3 separate regions of the Homo sapiens genome follow, and all the other regions are linked to region 1. The links are contacts of gene promoters, found by promoter capture Hi-C in human tissues and cell types (Jung and others, 2019). All regions are on one chromosome and are shown on one strand. The core of a region is centred on a gene start or on the middle of the fragment in contact, and the rest is flanking DNA. Distances in the headings are between cores, read along the strand shown. Region 1 holds the start of TVP23A (trans-golgi network vesicle protein 23 homolog A). Region 2 overlaps EMP2 (epithelial membrane protein 2). Region 3 overlaps EMP2 (epithelial membrane protein 2).

What was found. Contacts are between HindIII fragments. The study calls those that stand out against the background at their distance.
Region 2: a contact is called between a fragment that was not itself captured here and the fragment with the promoter of TVP23A in region 1, in 2 of the 25 tissues and cell types used here (liver and thymus).
Region 3: a contact is called between a fragment that was not itself captured here and the fragment with the promoter of TVP23A in region 1, in 1 of the 25 tissues and cell types used here (thymus).

Annotation. Positions count from the first base shown.
Region 1 is chr16:10,817,066-10,821,107 of GRCh38, reverse strand. It overlaps TVP23A (trans-golgi network vesicle protein 23 homolog A), which reads left to right and starts at 2,314. Exons shown (of 8, transcript NM_001079512.4): 1 at 2,314-2,623; 2 at 2,926-3,005. The coding sequence starts at 2,615. The HindIII fragment of the contact is 21,418 bases long and covers 1-4,042 here.
Region 2 is chr16:10,529,024-10,533,065 of GRCh38, reverse strand. It overlaps EMP2 (epithelial membrane protein 2), which reads left to right. Exons shown (of 5, transcript NM_001424.6): 5 at 1-4,042. The coding sequence ends at 161. Among named protein-coding and RNA genes, the nearest start is that of LINC01290, 2.8 kb to the right of the region's middle. The HindIII fragment of the contact is 3,069 bases long and covers 612-3,680 here.
Region 3 is chr16:10,549,110-10,553,151 of GRCh38, reverse strand. All of the region lies in intron 1 of EMP2 (epithelial membrane protein 2), which reads left to right. Among named protein-coding and RNA genes, the nearest start is that of LINC01290, 23 kb to the right of the region's middle. RefSeq lists an enhancer at 1-32. The HindIII fragment of the contact is 3,255 bases long and covers 360-3,614 here.

The sequences.
Region 1 (4,042 bases), core at 1,065-3,564:
AGCCGGATGTGGTGGCTCACGGCTGTAATTCCAGCCTTTTGGGAGGCTGAAGCAGGCAGATCACTTGAGGTCAGGAGTTCGAGACCAGCCTGGCCAACATGGTGAAACCCTGTCTCTACTAAAAACACAAAAATTAGCCAGGCGTGGTGGTATGTTCCTGTAGTCCCAGCTACTTAAGGGGCTGAGGCACAAGAATCACTTGAACCCAGGAGGTGGAGGTTGCAGTGAGCTGAGATCTAGCCACTGACTCCATCTCAAGAAAGAAAGAAAGGAAGGAAGGAAGGAGAAAAGAAAAGAAAGGAAGGAAAGAAAGGAAGAAAGAATCTCAGCCCCTGCCCAGACCCCCAGACCCCCAGAACGCTGAGTCAGCATCCAGCTTCTAAGCCAACCCCAGGAGATTCATTTGCAGATTGAGGGGTCAGAAGCACTCATTTAAATCACTGGTTCTTTACCTTGCAGCCCAACACCTGGGAGCTTTAAAAGCACTGGTATAGGGTCCCATCCCCAGAGAGCCTGATTTAATTGGTCCATAACACAATCTGGGCAGTGTGTCTTTTAGAAGCTATCCAAATCGCAGCAGAGTTTGGCAAATATATATACATATACATATATATATATATATATATATATATATATATATATATATATATATACATACACACACACATATATACACATTGTATATATATAAATCTTGGTTCCTGAAGATCGCATAGTAGAGGCTGGGTGCAGTGGTTCATGCCTGTAATCCCAGCTCTTTGGGAGGCCAAGGTGGGTGGATCACCTGCGGTCAGGAGTTGGAGACCAGCCTGGCCAACATGGTGAAACCCCCTCTCTACTAAAAATACAAAATACAAAAATTACCCGGGTTGATGTCAGGCGCCTGTAATACCAGCTACCTGGGAGGCTGAGGCAGGAGAATTGCAGGAACCCGGGAGGCAGGGGTTGCAGTGAGCCGAGATCGCACCATTGCACTCCAGCCTGGGTGACAAGAGGGAAACTCCATCTCAAAAAAAAAAAAAAAGAGAAATGGCATAGGAGAAAGCACTTTCCCTCCACACACACCTGGCAGGCCCTTGTGGGGTCAGCTTAGGGAATTGGGGTGGGGGCGGAGGACAGAAAGCCTGGAACCCAGGCCCAGGATCAGAGATGAGACAGCTCCTGCCTCCACCTCCGCCCATGGAGACCAGCAGTGGGGAAAATGTGTCAGGGGCTTGTGGCCCAGGAGCCCTCTTTGGGGTCACCAGGGGCAGGGGACACGTACCTATTGTCCATGGTGGGAGGGCAAAGGGCAGGGTCACTGGCTTTGGCATCTCGATGCTCAGCCCTCTGTCCGTGGGTGGGGGATCAGGACAGGGAGAGGGCACGCAGGAGAGGAGAGTCACTGTGTCCTGGGCCAGGAAAGACCCTCAGGTGACAAGTTTTCTTTCCTGGGAGGTACCCAGGAAGACTTTCACTTCAAGAAACACTACTATTACTGTCAATAATAGTATTAATACTACTAATAACTTTGCGCTTAATAAGTGCCTGGCACGGCGATGCACGCAGATCTCACTGTGGTTCTGAAGCTGTGGCTATAGCAGCGCCACCCCTTAAAAGGCAGGTGAGGCCGGGTGTGGTGGCTCACTCCTGTAATCCCAACACTTTGGGAGGCTGAGGCAGGAGGATGGCTTGAACCTCGGTGTTCAAGACTAGCCGGGGCGACATAGTGAGACCCTCCTCTCTACAAAAATAAAAATTTAGCTAGGTGTGGTGGTGCAGCCTGTGGTCCCAGCTTTTCGGGAGGCTGAGGCGGGAGGACTGCTTGAGCCCTGGAGTTTGAGGCCACAGTGAGCTACGATGGCACCAGTGCTCTCCAGCCTAGGTGCAGAGAATGTTCCCAACAATCTCTGCACGCAAGAAATTCCCAGGAACCTTGTGAAAAGCAGATTCTCAGGCCCGGCCCGGGGGATGTGGAAGGCCTGGAGTGGGGCCCTAGAATCTGCCTTCCCCACCCCACCCCCCAAAAAAGAACACAGCAGGGCCCATCCTAACTGCATTTTGTCGTGGGGGGTGGGGGCGCGGGGAAGGCAGATTCTAGGGCCCCACTCCAGGCCTTCCACATCCCCCGGGCCGGGCCTGAGAATCTGCTTTTCACAAGGTTCCTGGGAATTTCTTGCGCGCAGAGACTGTTGGGAAACACTGACCTTCTCCCAACCCTGAATGCGGCTGCCCACCACTGACATTCATTCACTGCCTTATCATTCGCTACATCCACGTTTATGCGCCGTCCACACCATTCGCTGACGCAGCCGCCCCCCGCCCCCGACTCCCATTCCTCCCACTATCTCTGTCCGCAGTTCCCCAGGCCGTTGCCTCCCTGCCGCCGCTTTCTCTCCTGGGCGCGTCCCCGGCGAGCCGAGCCCCCTCCCCAGCCTGCGACTGCGCCTTAGGCCCCGAGCGCCCCGCCCCACCCGAGAAGCTGCGCTGAGGCTGCCCCACAGGGCGCAGGCCCCGACCCTCAGCGTCCACCGTCTGCTGCCTACATCCGCCCGCCCGGCGTCCGACCCCTTCAGCGGCGACGGGCGGAGCTGGAGCCCCGGGCCTGGGCGCCAGGTGGGCTCCTGGGAGGGTGATGAAGCAGGTAGGGCCTCGGGGATGCTGGGGCTGGAGGCGGGGCGGGACGAGGGGAGCCTGCGGGAGCGCTGGAGAAGCCGGGAGGAGGAGGAGGGATGCGCCGGGGCCTGGGGCTGGGCTGCACCCGGTGGTCGGGAGGGTGGAGAGGGCTTTGCACTGCAGCCGCAGCGGAGGGGCCCCGCCAGCTCGGAGGGTCCACTTGGGAACCCGGTGGGGTGCAAGTGGAGTCCAAGCCCAGGAGGACAGGGCGGGTGGGGTTGGGGTGTGCGCCGTGCTTGGGCCTGCCACCTGCCCTTGCTCTCCTCCCAGGCCCTGGTGGACGATACCGAGGATGTGTCCCTGGACTTTGGAAACGAGGAGGAGCTGGCCTTTAGGAAAGCCAAGATCAGGTGTGTTGGGATGGAGCTTGGGTCAGGCGTTCCCCAAAGCTGCAAATTCATTCATTTACTCACTCATTCATTCAAAATATATTGAGCACCTACTGTGTGCCAGGTCTGGGGCTGGGGACATATCTGTGGACACATCAGACAAAGTCCCTGCCCTCCTGGAGCCTGCATTGGGAGAGGGAGGAAGAAGGGGTGGAGTTGATGTTGAACAGGCAAGGAGATTAATGAGATAATTGAATGTGAGAAGAAAATCAGCCCTGTGATGAAAGAGAAGGTAACTAGAGAAGGCCACTTGCCTTAGTGCAGCCATGGAGGGCCTCTCTGAGGAGGTGGCATTTGAGCTGAGACCAGAATGATGAGAAGCAGCCAGCCATGGGAGACTCCAGAGGGAGAGTGTTCCAAGCTGAAGGAACAGCAAGCGCAAAGGCCCTGGGGCTATGTTGTAAGATCAGAGAAAGCCACTGAGGCCAGAGGGGAGCAAGCTTGGCAGTGGGCTGGACAAGTGGAAGAGAGCTTGGAGTTTTATTCTAATCCCTGCTGAGTCTAGCTAGACAGACTTGTCCTGGGTCAAGTCACTTAACTGCCTGAGACCTCTAGCATCCCAGAAGGTGGCATGACCAAGGCATGAGGGATGACCTGTGAACGTGGTTGCCGATGGCCCAGGCGGCAGCCACTTCTAGAAACACCCACAGCTCAGCCTCACTCACCCACCCAGTTCTGCTTCCAGCTATCAGAGCCAGTAGGCATGGGACGAGCCCTGGCACCCAAATGCCATTCCTTGTAAAGTCTCTGTTTTTAAAATCAAACTCTCTGATTCAAACCTAATAAACCCCAGAAAGTAATAGACTGTATTAGTTTCCTATGGCCGCTAGAACAAATTACCATTATCATCTTGGCTTAAGACAAAAGAAGTTTATTCTCCTGCAGTTCTGGAGGCCAGAAGTCCACAGTCAGTGTTCCTGGGCTGAAACCAAGGTGGCAGCAGTGCCACACTCCCTTCGGAAGAATTAGGGGAAAATCCATTCTTTGCCTTTTCCAGC
Region 2 (4,042 bases), core at 897-3,396, 290 kb after region 1:
TTTATACAGACAGGCGTGAAGACATTCACGACAAAAACGCGAAATTCTATCCCGTGACCAGAGAAGGCAGCTACGGCTACTCCTACATCCTGGCGTGGGTGGCCTTCGCCTGCACCTTCATCAGCGGCATGATGTACCTGATACTGAGGAAGCGCAAATAGAGTTCCGGAGCTGGGTTGCTTCTGCTGCAGTACAGAATCCACATTCAGATAACCATTTTGTATATAATCATTATTTTTTGAGGTTTTTCTAGCAAACGTATTGTTTCCTTTAAAAGCCAAAAAAAAAAAAAAAAAAAAAAAAAAAAGAAAAAAGAAAAAAAAAATCCAAAAGAGAGAAGAGTTTTTGCATTCTTGAGATCAGAGAATAGACTATGAAGGCTGGTATTCAGAACTGCTGCCCACTCAAAAGTCTCAACAAGACACAAGCAAAAATCCAGCAATGCTCAAATCCAAAAGCACTCGGCAGGACATTTCTTAACCATGGGGCTGTGATGGGAGGAGAGGAGAGGCTGGGAAAGCCGGGTCTCTGGGGACGTGCTTCCTATGGGTTTCAGCTGGCCCAAGCCCCTCCCGAATCTCTCTGCTAGTGGTGGGTGGAAGAGGGTGAGGTGGGGTATAGGAGAAGAATGACAGCTTCCTGAGAGGTTTCACCCAAGTTCCAAGTGAGAAGCAGGTGTAGTCCCTGGCATTCTGTCTGTATCCAAACCAGAGCCCAGCCATCCCTCCGGTATCGGGGTGGGTCAGAAAAAGTCTCACCTCAATTTGCCGACAGTGTCACCTGCTTGCCTTAGGAATGGTCATCCTTAACCTGCGTGCCAGATTTAGACTCGTCTTTAGGCAAAACCTACAGCGCCCCCCCCCTCACCCCAGACCTACAGAATCAGAGTCTTCAAGGGATGGGGCCAGGGAATCTGCATTTCTAACGCGCTCCCTGGGCAACGCTTCAGATGCGTTGAAGTTGGGGACCACGGTGCCTGGGCCAGGTCAGCAGAGCTGCCTCGTAAATGCTGGGGTATCGTCATGTGGAGATGGGGAGGTGAATGCAACCCCCACAGCAGGCCAAAACCTTGGCCTCCATCGCCACAGCTGTCTACATCTAGGGCCCCAAAACTCCATTCCTGAGCCATGTGAACTCATAGACACCTTCAGGGTGTGGGGTACAGCCTCCTTCCCATCTTATCCCAGAAGGCCTCTCCCTTCTTGTCCAGCCCTTCATGCTACACCTGGCTGGCCTCTCACCCCTATTTCTAGAGCCTCAGAGGACCCATCCACCATTCATTCATTCATTCATTCATTCATTCATTCATTCATTCATCAACATAAATCATAACTTGCATGCATGTGCCAGGCACAGGGGATACCCTCTAGAGACAATCTCCTCCTAGGGCTCATGGCCTAGTGGAGGAGACAGATTAAAACTTAATTAGAAAAACTGGCTGGGTACAGTGGCTCATGCTTGTAATCCCAGCACTTTGGGAGGCTGAGGCGGGTGGATCACCTGAGGTCAGGAGTTCAAGACCAGCCTGGCCAAAATGGTAAAACCTGTCTCTACTAAAAATACAAAAATGAGCTGGGCGTGGTGGTGCATGCCTGTAATCCCAGCTATCAGGTGGCTGAGGCAGGAGAATCACTTGAAATGGGAGGTGGAGGTTGCAGTGAGCCGAGACCGTGCCACTGCACTCCAGCCTGGGTGACAGAGTGAGACTCCATCTCAAAAAAAGAAAAAAAAGAAAAGAAACTAATTACACACTGTGATGGAGGCTGCAAAGAACACCACTAAGAATTCAAAATCAGCTGGGTGCGGTGGCTCACACCTGTAATCCCAGCACTTTGGGAGGCTGAGGCAGGTGGATCACAAGGTCAGGAGTTCAAGACCAGCCTGGCCAACATGGTGAAACCCCGTCTCTACCGAAAATACAACAAAATTAGCCCGGTGTGGTGGCAGGTGCCTGTAATCCCAGCTACTTAGGAGGCTGAGGCAGGAGAATCGCTTGAAACTGGGAGGCGGAGGTCGCAGTGAGCCGAGATTCACCACTGCACTCCAGCCCAGGCGACAGTCTGAGACTCCGTCTCAAAAATAAAACGATTCAAAATCGAGGCCTGTGGCATGGTAGGGAGGCTGCTTTACGCGTGCCTATTATTAAATGCTCCTGGAGGCATTTAGGTATTTAGATCAGTCTAAATATAGCTCCATTCAGTTCGTGCAGATGACAGTTATTGGGCAGTACCTGTCTGTGTAACACCCAGAAAACATGTCTGTGGAGGGGCCCATGGTCCCGACAGTAAATGCGGTGAGAGGGTCCCATAGAGCTGGAGTTTTCAAGCTTTAGGGGTTCCCGTGCTGCTTGGGACAGGCTGATTCAGAGGGTCTGGGTGAATGATTTCCAGGTGATTTTAAGACTGTGCTGAGAAATAGGGCTTTTGGGGCCTTGTCCTTCAGGATCAAAGCATGATGCTGTGTGGCAATGCAGACCACCCAGGAACCATCCCAGGAGATAAGCTCTTTGCACCTCATTGTCTTTTTCTGCTTATGTTGGAGCAGGATGCTGGGGGCTGTCCTGGGATGGGGTGTGGGACCTCGTGCTATTTAAATACTTTTGCACTTGACCTTCTGCTGAGTGGAGTGGTGGTTTGCCATCAGCTCAGTTCCAGTGGAGCTGAAGAGACATCTGGTTTGAGTAGTTTTAGGGCCACCATGGATATCTCTTCAATGCAGGATTGGCTCTTTCCATCTGCTCTTTCATTCATTTGTTTTTGACAGATAGTATTAAATGTTTACCATGTTCCAGGCACTGTGTGAGGCTCTGAAAATACAGGGGTGAGCAAATCCAGATATCCTCCCTGCCATCATGAAGTTTGGAGTCTATGAGATAGGACCCCCTCCCTATGGAGAAGCCACCAATGCAGTACAGGGTGACCTGGGGCCAGAGACAGGACAAATGTCACCTCCTGCCTCCATGAGATACTCTCACTAGTCATATTGTGGGCAAGAATGTGGCTTACACCCCTAGGGTTAACAGGATGCTACCCAAGCTCATGGAGGAAGTTGAATCTTAAGTTCCCTTGAAACTTTCTACCTTGGTGGCTTTTCTATAATTTTCTTTTTTCTTTTTCTTTTTTTTTTTTTTTTTTGAGACTGAGTTTTGCTCTTGTTGCCCAGGCTGGAGTGCAGTGGCACCATCTTGGCTCACCGCAACCTCTGCCTCCTGGGTTCAAGTGATTCTCCTGCCTCAGCCTCCCGAGTAGCTGGGATTACAGGCATGTCCCACCATGCCCAGCTAATTTTTGTATTTTTAGTAGAGATGGGGTTTCTCCATGTTGGTCAGGCTGGTTTCGAACTCCCAACCTCAGGTGATCCGCCCACCTCAGCCTTCCAAAGTGCTGGGATTACAGGCATGAGCCACTGCGTCTGGCCTTCTATAATTTTCTGGTAGTCACGATGGAAACAAACAAAACACCTTAGAACCAGAGATCGACCCCCTCAAGCAATACATCAATTCCCTTCACAAGAAACGTCGGGGCTACATGAGTATCTGTGTTGAATGCGGTCTGAAATGATCCTATGGATTTTCCCGGCTGGTTGCCACTGCTGTACAACATTCAGTGCCCACATCCACCTGTGCCATTAAGCTTTTTTGAGACATGAGAGATGCCTCTTCCCTGCTGTATGACATGCATTTGGGAAGTTGGAAAGAAATGACAAAATCAGGGAGAAAACATCCAAGCTTCTTACCTGTAGATAGAATCAGCCCTCACTTGGTGCTTATTACCAGTTATTCAAGAACAATAACAACAACAAAATTAGTAGACATCCAAGAAGCACATATTAGGACCAAAGATAGCATCAACTGTATTTGAAGGAACTGTAGTTTGCGCATTTTATGACATTTTTATAAAGTACTGTAATTCTTTCATTGAGGGGCTATGTGATGGAGACAGACTAACTCATTTTGTTATTTGCATTAAAATTATTTTGGGTCTCTGTTCAAATGAGTTTGGAGAATGCTTGACTTGTTGGTCTGTGTGAATGTGTATATATA
Region 3 (4,042 bases), core at 738-3,237, 270 kb after region 1:
AACATTCGGGGGATTTCCGCTACTTGTGAATAACTTCCTCCAAAGCCTCGGGTGAAGTCACCAGCAATGTCCTGGGTTCACAAGTCCTAAAATTGAGCTACCGCATTTTGGTTTTTACTGGAGATCTGAATTCCAGATGTCATAGGAGACCTTTACTTCTCTGTTGTTTTTCGGAGTGCCTAATGGTTGAAACCAACCTCTAACTGCCATTTCCTTTACATGTACTAGAAACCTTACTTGACTTCTCTTGAAAACGTATCCCTTTCTCTGTAGAAGCTTGTTCCTGATGTCTGAAATGTCCATCTGAAACCATTCCCAGAGCTTAAAGCAGTACTTCCCAGACATCAGCATTTGACAACCACCCTGAGGATTTCTACTGACACTGAGGACCACCTGTCCTTTTACTTACATAACATTTTCCCTAAATTGTTCACTTTTAAAGCTTCAATAACTTGGTTTTAAAATACTTTATATCACTGCTATACGTGGTGTTTCTTCCTTATAAAAAGAAAGAACGTTAAAAATAAATACAATAAACTCAGAATGATGCTATTAAATTCTAGCTACAAATACATTTTAACCAAAGATCTGTTTTCTCTTTTTGTCAAAAAGAAATTAGCAAGTATTGGAGACTGACTAGCACCAAACTGGGTCTTTTCCTTGGTGAACTCAGTAGGATTGGAATGGGAACTTTTTCACCATGTGGTTCAATGTTGCTTAATGCCCTATCAATGCACTGTCCAAAATCATGCCTTATAACATTTTAATTCCATCCTTTGGGAAAGAATGGGTTAAAACCTTTTTTCTTTTTAATTATTATTTTCTAGAAAGTTTTAGTTACATGTCCATATGCATTTGTGTCATCCCAGCTGGACAACATATGAAGCTATTATCACCCTGGAGTTAATGGCCCTGGTGAAGTTGGCATTTGGGCATTCCTGCTGATGTTAAAGTAACAGGGCATTCAGCGTGGTACATGAGCCCTTTTTCCCCCCAGGGTCAGAAATGCATCTATTAAAAAAAAAAAAAAAAGGGAATGCATCATTTTGGAGGCAGCAGCATATGGTGGCAGCTAAGAATGACGCAGGCCTAAACAAAGGGGAATTTGTCTTTTTTGAAAGAATTAGAAGAATCTCCAAGCTGGTTCATTGGGTCCTTCTAATTGGTGATGCACAGAATCACAGCCAGGACCTCTCAGACTGAGTTCTGCAGCCATACAGCTCCTGGCTCATTGTTAGTGTGTCCTGGGTCTCAAGGAGTGGACCCTGTATGAGCCCATGAGCCTTGATCCATTCCGTGGGGGGATAATGGGGATGAGAATGAGCATGGTTGGAGAGGAGAGCTGGCAGTGAAAAGGTGGAGGGTTTGTGCAGTCAGTGCATGTCCACTAGAGGAGGGGGAATAGTTGGTACCAGAAAAAGGCCTTTTAAAATGATCCTATTTTGCTCTGGGGATGGTGGCTCACGTCTGTAATCCCAGCACTTCGGGAGACCAAGGCAGGCAGATCACATGAGGTCAAGGGTTTGAGACCAGCCTGGCAAACACAGTGAAACTCTGTCTCTACTAAAAATGCAAAAATTAGCCAGGCGTAGTAGCACGTGCCTGTAGTCCCAGCTACTGGGGAGGCTGAGGCAGGAGAATCGCTTGAACCCGGGAGGCAGAGGTTGCAGTGAGCCGAGATTGTGCCACTGCACTCCAGCCTGGGCAACGGAGCAAGACTCTGTCTCAAAAACAAACAAACGAAAATCCTATTTCAGAAATATCAGTGAATGCTTAAACTCTGAGTGAAAGTTTCTTGAGAGAGGATCTTTACATTATCTCAAAATACCTTCCCACACATGCCACATCATGGATGGACCTTTGAAACACTGTGCTAAATGAAAGAAGACAGACACAAAAGGCCACACTATTGTATGATTCCAACGATATGAAATATCTAAAATAGACAAATCCATAGAAACAGAAAGTATATTATTTGTTGCTGGGGGTTGGGGGAAGGGAGAATAGGGAATAACTGCTTAGTGAGTACACAATTTACTTTGGGGGTGATGAAACGTTCTAGAACTGGATAGTGGTGATGGATATACAATATTGGGAATGTAATGTGTCTCATTTACACTAATAGTAAATGTTATGTGTATTTTATCAAATATCACTTCTACAATTTTTTTTTTTTTGAGATGGAATCTCTCTCTGTCACCCAGGCTGGAGTGCAGTGGCGCGTTCTTGGCTCAGTGCAACCTCTGCCTTCTGGGTTCAAGTGATTCTCCTGCCTCAGCCTCCTGAGTACCTGGAATTACAGGTGCCCACCACCACGCCCGGCTAATTTTTGTGTTTTTAGTAGAGACAGGGTTTCACTACGTTGGCCAGGCTGGTCTCGAACTCCAGACCTCAGGTGATCCACCCACCTCGGCCTCCCAAAGTGCCGGGATTACAAGCATGAGGCACCATGCCCAGCCTTACAAAGTATTTTTTAATGACAAAGGGGAAATGTACAGTGAAAGAATCTGGCAGAACACAACCCAGTGATCAAAGTTAGCATCACCAATGATGGGACAAACTGGCATACTGCACCTCCTGGTGGGATCCATTGAGGACACATGGCTCATATGCCATTCCTGCTTAAAAAATATAATCTGGATCGAATCATCAGGAAACATCGAACACAAATTTGAGGGACATTCTACAAAATAAGTGGTCAATATTCTTAAATAATATCAATGTTATGAAAAACAAAGACAGACCTGAGGAAGTATTCCAGATTAAAGGGGACTAAAGAGACCTGAAACGAAAATGCAGTGTATCAGCTTGGATTGGATCCTGGGGCAGGAAAAAGAAAGCCATGTAGAACATTATTGGGTTAATTGGGGAAATTTGACTATGGACTGTAGATATGATAGTTATATTGTATCACGTTAAATTTCTCCATTGTGATCATCATAGTGTGGTTATGTAAGAAAATGTGCAACCAGGTGCGGTGGCTCACGCCTGTAATCCCAGCACTTTGGGAGGCCGAGGCAGGCGGATCACCTGAGGTCAGGAGTTCGAGACCAGCCTGGCCAACATAGTGAAACCCTGTCTGTACTAAAAATACAAAAATTAGCTGGGCGTGGTGACACGTGCCTGTAGTCCCAGCTACTCAGGAGGCTGAGGCAGGAGAATCACTTGAACCTGGGAGGCAGAGGATGCAGTGGGCTGAGATCGCACCACTGTACTCCAGCCTGGGCAACAGAGTGAGACTCTGTCTCAAAAAAAAAAAAAAAAAAAAGAAAAAGAAAAAAAAAGAAAAGAAAAGAAAAGAAAGAAAATGTCCTTGGTTTTTCAGAAATACACACTAAAGCACTTAGTTGTATGGTTTAGGCAACTTACTCTCAAGTGGTTCAGAAAAAGAGAGACAGTGTATGTGTGTGTGTGTGTGTGTGAGTGTGTGTGTGTGCGTGCATTAATCCATTTAAAACTGGGGCTACAATTTCATCCCAGTGAACAGAAGGTCTGATTCGCACTGTACTTCAAAACATGAAACTACAAATTAATTTTTTTCCAAAAAAATGTAGTAACTATCTCGTCACAAATTATTGGAATAAAAGAAGAATGAACCAAGTGTTGATATTAGGAGGCTGCATCTTCCAACCAGATCATTTGATGTGACATCTTCCCTTGACATTTGAGTTTTGTTGACCAAGATGATGGTTATAAAATACTCAAAGATTTTATCAATTTTTCCCAGTGTGACTTTTAATTGTTTGATAGTTAAAGCATTCTTTTGAATGCTTTTTCCTCATTTATTGGGAACTTCTCCAGCTCAGACAAGTCCTCATGTATTCATGCCCTCAGTGGCTTTTCATCTGATCTCCCATGACATTTTTATCAACTTTGGACAACTGTAGTTCTGTTGTAAGACTTCCAATTTCACTTTGCAATTGCTTCCTCTTGTATGTCACTCAAACTGTCCTGCCAAAGTAAAGCATTACCCTGAAATCTCAGTGGTTTAACATCCAGAGGTTTATTAATTCCCCAATCATAATATCTGTCCAAGGTGTGA